Regions from separate parts of the Homo sapiens genome. Here region 1 is linked to region 2. The links are contacts of gene promoters, found by promoter capture Hi-C in human tissues and cell types (Jung and others, 2019). All regions are on one chromosome and are shown on one strand. The core of a region is centred on a gene start or on the middle of the fragment in contact, and the rest is flanking DNA. Distances in the headings are between cores, read along the strand shown.

Region 1 (4,299 bases), core at 392-2,891, 660 kb after region 2:
ACTTTCCACATTGAACAAATAAGTAAGAAAAAGAAAGGGAAACTTCCCCAGGGCTGAAAGGAAATTTTCAGGTCATGCCATTATTATCAGAATTAATAAGACCCATGCATCGTGGAAAACTGAGAACACCACGACTAAAAACAGATGGCAGGCTGGGCGTGGTGGCTCACGCCTGTAATCCCAGCTCTTTGGGAGGCTGAGGCAGGCAGATCACCTGAAGTCAAGAGTTTGAGACCAGCCTGGCCGACATTGTGAAACCTCATCTCTAATAAAAATTCAAAAATTAGCCAGGCATGGTGGCAGCCGCCTATAATCCCAGCTATTCAGGAGGCTGAGGCAGGAGAATCGCTTGAACTCGAGAGGTAGAGGTTGCAGTGAGCTAAGATTGTGCCACTGCACTCCAGCCTTGGGCGACAAAGCGAGACTCTGTCTCAAAAAAAAACAAACAAAAAAAATGTCAGGGTCGGGCATGGTGGCTCACACCTGTAATCCCAGCTACTTGGGAGGCTGAGGTAGGAGAATTGCTTGAACCCAGGAGGTGGAGGTTGCAGTGAGCTAAGATTGTGCCACTGCACTCCAGCGTGGGCGACAAAGCGAGACTCTGTCTCAAAAAAAAAAAAAAAAAAAAAGATGGCAGGGCTGGCATGGTGGCTCACGCCTGTAATCCCAGCACTTTGGGAGACCGAGGCAGGTGGATCACTCTAGGTTAGGAGTTTGAGACCAGCCTGGCCAAGATGGTGAAACCCTGTCTCTACTAAAGATACAAAAATTAGCCAAGTGTGGTGATAAATGCCTGCAATCCCAGCTACTCAGGAGGCTGACGCAGGAGTATCACTTGAACCTGGGAGGCAGAGGTTGCAATGAGTCTAGATCATGCCACTGGACTCCAGCCTGGGCGACAGAATGAGACTCTGTCTCAAAACAGAGCAAATGGCATGGCAGAACCTTCTCTAGAGAAAATAGTTTTGAATCTAAGAAAGGAATAGCTTTAATCTAGAAAAGGAATAGGGCAAGAAAAGGAATGTTTATTCACCCATAACTTAAAAAAAAAGGTAATTTTAATTGAAGGCTTCAAGGTAAATTGTGCTCAAACTATACAAATTCTGCTAGATGGTTATAGTTCCTATGTGAAGGTAACTTTAGAAAGTAGTGTTCACTTGACACTGATGTGAGTAATTCTTGCTGGAGGGGGCAAAAAGCTCATGAAATTTGAATAAAGGAGGAGGAGATGCAGTCAGATTGTTGATTGACCCTTCAGGGAATGGCATTTGCATAGCTGTGACGTGAACCCTAGGTATTGGCTTTTTTTTTCTTTTTTTTTGAGAAGGAGTCTCTGTTGCCCAGTCTGGAGTGCAGTGGCGCGATCTTGGCTCACTGTAACCTCCGCCTCCCGGGTTCAAGCAATTCTCCTGCCTCAGCCTCCTGAGTAGCTGGGATTACAGGCACGTGCCACCACGCCCAGCTAATTTTTGTATTTTTAGTAGACACAGGGTTTCACCATGTTGGTCAGGATGGTCTCCAACTCCTCACCTTGTGATCCGCCCACCTTGGCATCCCAAAGTGCTGGGATTACAGGGATGAGCCATTGCACCCGGCCTGTATTGGCTTTTAATTTTTAGGAAGTAACACATGGCTGTGACCTGACAACTTCATAGTGGCCGTAGGGTAGGGCACTGTTGTCATTATTCCTGTCACTGACAATGTCAGCCCCACCTGCAGATGTGGGAGAGTAGATGGGGAAAGTAGTAGTGGAGAGTAGAGGTTTCCCTTACCATCCTTTTAGGAAGTAGGCTTTTAAACATGATATGTAAGTTTATTTAGAAGATGAAAATTAAAGCTTGAAATGTAATATGAGAGGAATTGGCAGCGGATGTGAGTCAGATCCTCACCTGTCAGAGCAGGAAGTTAGTGAAAACTAAAGATGATTGGCTGGATGCGGTGGCTTATGCCTGTAATCCCAGCACTTTGGGAGGCTGAGGTGGGTGGATCACCTGAGGTCAGGAGTTTGAGACCAGCCTGGCCAACATGGTGAAACTCTGTCTCTACTAAAAATACAAAGATTAGCCCAGCGTGGTGGTGGGCACCTGTAATCCCAGCTACTCAGGAGGCTGAGGCAGGAGAATCGTTTGAACCCAGGAAGTGGAGGTTGCAGTGAGCTGAGATTGCATCACTGTGCTCCAGCCTGGGCAACAGAGTCAGACTCCGTCTCCAGGAAAAAAAAAAAAAAAAAGACTAAAGATGATCAAAGATTAGAATTACGGAGGTGTCCTCAAGAAGAATTGGAACAGATATGGTTAAAAGTGGCTGGAGGTGGGTGCAGTGGATATGGTGGTGCACACCTGTAATCCCAGTGCTTTGGGAGGCTGAGGCAGGTGGATCACTTGAGCCTAAGAGTTGGAGACCAGCCTGGGCAACATGGCGAGACCTGGTCTCTACAAAAAATACAAAAATTAGCCGGGCATAGTAGCACATACCTGAAGTCCCAGCTACTCAGGAAGCTGAGTTGGGAGGATTCTTTGACCCCAGGAGGTTGAGGCTGCAGTTAGCTGTTATTATATCACTGCACTCCAGCCTATGTGACAGTGTGAGACCCTATCTCAAAAAAAAAGTGATGTCGGGAGGCTGAGAGGATGAGTGACTGGGGCAGGAGATGAGTACTTTCCCTTTTAAGCCCATAGCATTTAATTCCCTGGTGGTTCACTTCTTATTTGGATAACTAACAAATTATTTCAAATGTGTGCCTATAGGTGAGAGAAGCAATGGTACATGAGGAGGTAAGCATTTGATTTGTGGGATTATGAACAACTGTCCTACTCTCCTTTTGATTCGGTGTCTCTGTATTAGTGATCTGACAATTTAAAAAATCAAGCAAGAGCAGGCTGGGCGCAGTGGCTCATGCCTGTAATCCCAGCACTTTGGGAGGCCGAGGCGGGCGGATCACTTGAGGTCAGGAGTTGAAGACCAGCCTGGCCGACATGGTGAAACCCTGTCCCCACTAAAAATGCAAAAATTATCTGGGCGTGGTGGTGGGTGCCTGTAATGCCAGCTACTTGGGAGGCTGAGCAGGAGAATCGCTGGAACCCGGGAGTTGGAGATTGCAATGAGCCGAGATTGCCCCACTACACTCTAGCCTGGGCAACAGAGTGAGACTCCTTGACAGGAAAAAAAAAAAAAAAAAGCATAAAGAAAAGATGTCAGACTTGTCTGTTTGGCCAGTTTGAGTTTATTTCAGCAGGCAGGGCAGGAAGGTTCCTTGGCTTCCTAGAATCCCCTGGAGTTGGATGGGTGTGGTGGCTTACACCTGTAATCCTAACAGACCAAGGCCCAGGTGGAAGGATCAACTGAGGCCGTGAGTTTGAGATTAGACTGGGCAACATGGCAGGACTCTGTCTCTGCAAGAAATAAAAAACCAGGTGTGGTGGCACGCGCCTGTTGTTCCAGCTACTCAGGAGGCTGAGGTGTGAGATCACTTGAGCCTGAGAAGTTGAGGCTGCAGTGAGCTGAGATTGCACCACTGCATTCCAGCCTGGGCAACAGAGTGAGACCCTGTTTCTTTAAAAATAAAAATAAAAATAATCCCTTGGATTTAAAGGGAGTGGGTTAGTCCTTGAAGATTTGATTTTCCAGAATTCTTATCAAGAAGAAGTTGAGGCGGGAGAATCATGAGGTCAGGAGTTCAAGACCAGCCTGGCCAACATGGTGAAACCCCGTCTCTACTAAAAGACGTGGTGGTGCGTGCCTGTAAATCCAGCTACTCAGGAGGCTGAGGCAGGAGAATTGCTTGAACCGGGACCTGGGAGGCGGAGGTTGCAGTGAGCTGAGATCGTGCCACTGCACTCCAGCCTGGGCTACAGAGCGAGTCTCCTTCTCAAAAAAAAAAAGAAAAGAAAAGAAAAAAAGGCCGGGCGCGGTGGCTCATGCCTGTAATCCCAGCACTTTGGGAGGCCGAGTTGGGCAGATTGCAAGTTCAGGAAATCGAGACCATCCTGGCTAACATGGTGAAACCCATCTCTACTAAAATTACAAAAATTAGCCGGGTGTGGTGGCGCATGCCTGTAATCCCAGCTACTTGGGAGGCTGAGGCAGGAGAATCGCTTGAACCCAGGAGGCGGAGGTTGCAGTAAGCCAAGATCGCACCATTGTACTCCAGCCTGGGCAACAAGAGCGAAACTCTGTCTCAAAAAAAAAAAGAAGAAAGAAACCAAAAAAGTAGAAAATCATATTATCATATACTTTAATAGCACAACAAAATTACAAATTAATAATTGTGGGTATTTTAGAATATATATGAAACAGCTA
Region 2 (4,393 bases), core at 284-2,783:
TTTTGGAGACTAAACGCTGCTTGTAGTCATAGTTCTAACACAGCTGTGTGCTCAGCTTCATTTGCTCACTTCTCAGAATTCAATGTCTCCTGCTCAAATTTTGCTGTCATCTTAACCGTTTTCACTTATCACAGATATGTTTCTCCAGGTCCATTTCGTCATGTATCTGTGAATAACTACAGAATTATTAACTTTGAGTAATTTGGCCGGGCGCGGGGGCTCTCCTGTAATCCCAGCACTTTGGGAGGCTGAGGCGGGCAGATCACGAGGTCAGGAGATCGAGACCATCCTGGCTAACACGGTGAAACCCCATCTCTACTAAAAATACAAAAAGTTAGCCGGGCATGGTGGCAGGCGCCTGTAATCCCAGCTACTCCGGAGGCTGAGGCAGGAGAATAGTGTGAACCTGGGAGGCGGAGCCTGCAGTGAGCTATGGTCGCACCACTGCACTCCAGCCTGGGCGACTGAGCAAGACTCCGTCTCAAAAAAAAAAAACACAAAACAACTTTTGAGTAATTTAAACAATTCACAAATGTTTTTGTCTTTCTTTCCCCATACACTCGCCCTTTTCTTTTTTAAAACCATAAATAAATCTCAATTCTCAATTCAGACACTGTCGGTGTAATTGCAGGTGAAATGAGAATCACCTCCCAGCCAAGAAATCTGATCCCAATTTTCCAAATCTTTATTTCTGGGTTCAGACACCACATTTTCAGCCCCTGTCTTGGCATATAAAAGCATTTATAATGGTTCTTCTTTTCAGATAAGAAACATCACCAAAAGGAAATAGATATATCTCAACTTTTGGGCTAGGAACTCTCATTTGGATAAAAGAATATTTCTCCTTTGGTTGGACATTAGTGACCATACAGGCAGGAAAGGTGCCTTCCTTGACCACCTTCTCTCGCCTGTCTTCCTCCTCATGGTTCTCTCAGGTATTTTTTTTCTGAGGAAACCAGAGGAAGAGCTCTATATTAGTCCACTTGCCTCAGGGAGCTCCAGCATCCCTCCATAGCCACTGTCTGGAGACCATTCTTCCACTCCATGGCCCTGCCTGGGGACAATTCTCTGTTAACTCTGACCCAACTGAGGCTCACAAAACTGACTCAAAGCTTCCCTCTACAGTACACATATTTTTTAAATGAAGGAAATTTGACTGAACTATGAGTGGACTCAGAGTGACATTGGATGTTGTGTGTCCATTTGGTGGTGTGGCTTCAGGGAACATCTGTAAGAATATATCCCAATATTTCGGGGATCCCTGCAGACCTCACTACACAAGACCTGGTTGAGGGTCCTTTAAAAGGAGCGAAGCCACGCCCTGACCTCAGAGTCTCAGGGCATAATTTCTCAGCGCCCCTCGCAGTACCATTTGGCCTTTGCCCAGCGTGCAGGGGAGTTAGCCGTCACCACGGCCAAGTGCACATGAGAACTGCATTGCCCAGAAACCTGTGCGCCGCCCGGCGGCGGCACTCTTAGGGGCGTCTCCCTGCGGACGGAAGCTCTCTGGGCGGGACTTCCGGTATCTTCCTCGCGGTGGACATCTTGTCGGCTCTTAGGTGGAACCATCGGAGCAGAAGCTCGGGGTTGCTGGGCGGTTCCGAGGTGACGGAAGCGGGAGGGTGCGGGAGAAGTCGCTGTTCGCTCTGCGGAGTGGCTCGCCAGCGAAGACCCCGCCTGCGCCCCCGGGGACGGACGACCGCGGTGCCAGGGTCCCGCGACCTGGGACCCCCTCGCGGCTCCGGGTGGTCTACGAACTGTGATGGCGGCGGCCGCGGTGATGGGCCCGGCGCAGGTGGGTGCTGCCTTTCCCAGACTTTCGCCCGCCCCAAATCCTGAAGTTCCAAATGAGGAGCGCCTGTCTGAGTCCCTGCAGCGCAGGCCCCAGTGTCCAAGGCAGCGGGGCGCTGGTGGGTGGGGGCGAGTGTGACTGGCAGAGGGGCAGCCTGAGCATAGGTTTGGAGCTGGACTGAGCCCGTAGCAGTCGGGAGCGTGTGTGAACCGTAGTCAGGCCTGCAATGTCGAGGGGAGAAGTTGCTCCTTCATTGCGAGGACGATAGGAGCCATGGCGGGTTTTGAATGGTGGAGGGAAGGGATCCGAAAAAGGATTTTTAAAGTATTCCAATGTTTGCTGAGGAGGAAACCGACTACAGTGAGGTAGAAACGATGAGGATGGAGGCAAGGAGACGTTTGAGGAGGTCCCTGCAACAAACTCCAGAAGTGTTGCGGTGGTGGCTGGGCCAGAGCAGTGGCAGGAGGGGTTGGGTGGGGAAGTCATGAGATTCTGGGTAGATTTTTAAAGATGGAACCAATGGGGTTTCCTGCCGCATCAGATGTGGTCGTGAGTGAATGTAGGGAGGAAAGGGCTATCCAGGGTTTTTTTGGCCTGTTTTCCTTCCTGAACGTGTGAAAGAATGGAAATTGGTAAGTCACAGCAGGGAGCACGTTTCAGGGGCATCAGGAATTGGGTTTTGGACTTGGTGAATCTAAGGTGTTCTGCACTGGAGGTTCATCACGGGTAGCTGAACATGCAGGTCTGGGGTTCTAGAGAGGGAGTTGTGCTAGAGACTTCAATGGGTGAGGCATAAGGTCAAAGCCTGTAGTAGATCAGATTTAGAGGGTGGAATTTCAAGGAAGTTATTTTGTGTGGTCTCTGAAGTGAGAGGTGGGTTTAGGGTGGAAGGCCAGGGATGAAGGGGTGGACACTTAAGATTCCTTCCAGAAAGGAGGGGTCCTGGCATGTGAAAGCATTCTAGATGGTGTTGTTGGAAGTCAATGCTTGGTGCTGCAAAGTGAAACCAGCACTCAGGCAAAAGTTTTCTCAGCAAGGCAATTTACTTCTGTGCAAGTGTGCTGCCTGTGTTAATCACGATCCCAAGAGCACACTGAACAAAGGAGGGAAGGGGTTTTTATCTCTAACCCATAGTCCCTACCTTCCTCTGTGTCACTCCCCCATGGGCTGGGGTCGGACCGCTTAATCTAAGCTGAGCCAATTGGGTATTTGTGAGTATTTTCCAAATAAGGAAGAGGGAAGGGGAAGGTGAGTTACAGTGGTGGGACATGTGAGTTGTGTAGGACGTGTGGTTTTGGCGGGGGCAATGGGTGCAAAGTGAGTAAGGGAACAGATGTGAATTATTGGTTAGTGCTTACAGGAAGGTTGTTTATAGTAACTAGGGGCAAGGAGGCATGGAGAACAAGAAAGGTTTGAGAACAAAGAACAAGGAAGTTAACAGGCTAAACCTTTGAAGAGGAATTTTATTATATCTTATAGTGTCAGCAAGAGGAGAGGGCTGTAGAGCATAAGTAGCCTGGCCTGCACTGGAGACCAAGGTGAGGGATGCAGTAGGTTTGCCACCCTACAGGCTCAGCATGCCTTCATGGGCGCTGCCTGTGGAGCAGTCCCATCCCCAACCAGTGCATTGGTGCCTCAGTTACCCAAACCCTCAGGTAAGCAGAATTGATGAACATCTCTAATGAAGGATCACTGCAGCTCCCCTTCAGAGGAATATGTATCAGGTAGGCTGGTTTAGTGCAAGGGCTAGTGTACACCTTGCAAGTACGCAGAAGGAACTAAAAAATGTATGTACAAAGTAAGGGAAATTTATACTAGCACTTAATGATTGGTCAAAATATTAAGTTGCCTTGAAGTATTTTATTACAATGGAAAAATCTTAACCAAATTTTCTTAAAAGCTTTAAAGCAGGCAAAACAAACCTAATTTTTCAAAAACTCATCAGTTCATTTGCATGGATAGTAGTAGCTGTTTCAAAGGCACTTGAGATGTACAGACAAGCCTGATACAAACAGTAGCCCTATGAGGTGGGTGCCATTATTATCCCCACTTTTAAGATGAGGACACTCAGACGCTGGTCTTTATGTTCACACAGCTGGTGGGAGCCAGCACTGAGATCTGAGTATCTGAAGTTAGAGAGGTAACCCAAAATCATTCCTGCCAAAGGGCAGGGTAGGCAGGGCTTAGGGAAACAGTTCAGTCGATGAGATCCCACTGTGGGAACCTGCCACTCCCAGCTTCCCTCCTCTTGTGAGGTTGCCATGGTGGCAGAAACTTATGATTCCTACCTAGATGAGAGTAGATTGTCTCAGGCCCTCACTTAGCCCAACACACCCCCATTATCTCAGCAACTCAGTGTGGAGAATGATAGTGTTCTGGGACTCTTCAGTGTCCCTTCTGCCTACCGTTCTTGGAGGTCCTGCAGTCACCCAAAGCTCTGTGTTGTAAATTCTGTTTTGGAATTATGTGGAAGGGTTTCTATTTCTGGCAAGCAATGGGATGAAATGTGGAACATTATCTCAGGCATAGGAACCAGCATGTGCAAATACTTAACTTAAGGCTAAACTAGGAGTGTTCAGGGAACCTCAGGCCTCCATTATG

What was found. The method cuts DNA at HindIII sites, captures the fragments that hold promoters and counts their contacts. A contact is called where the count stands out against the background at its distance.
Region 1: a fragment that was not itself captured here is called in contact with the fragment with the promoter of ZNF134 in region 2 in 1 of the 25 tissues and cell types used here (spleen).

What each region holds. Positions count from the first base shown.
Region 1 is chr19:58,269,003-58,273,301 of GRCh38, forward strand. All of the region lies in intron 1 of ZNF8-DT (ZNF8 divergent transcript), which reads right to left. It also overlaps a transcript of ZNF544 not described here. Among named protein-coding and RNA genes, the nearest start is that of ZNF8-DT, 7.6 kb to the right of the region's middle. The HindIII fragment of the contact is 7,344 bases long and covers 1-4,299 here.
Region 2 is chr19:57,612,709-57,617,101 of GRCh38, forward strand. ZNF134 (zinc finger protein 134) reads left to right here and starts at 1,534. Exons shown (of 3, transcript NM_003435.5): 1 at 1,534-1,795. It also overlaps a transcript of ZNF530 not described here. RefSeq lists an enhancer at 1,429-1,608 and a silencer at 1,739-1,788. The HindIII fragment of the contact is 8,655 bases long and covers 1-4,393 here.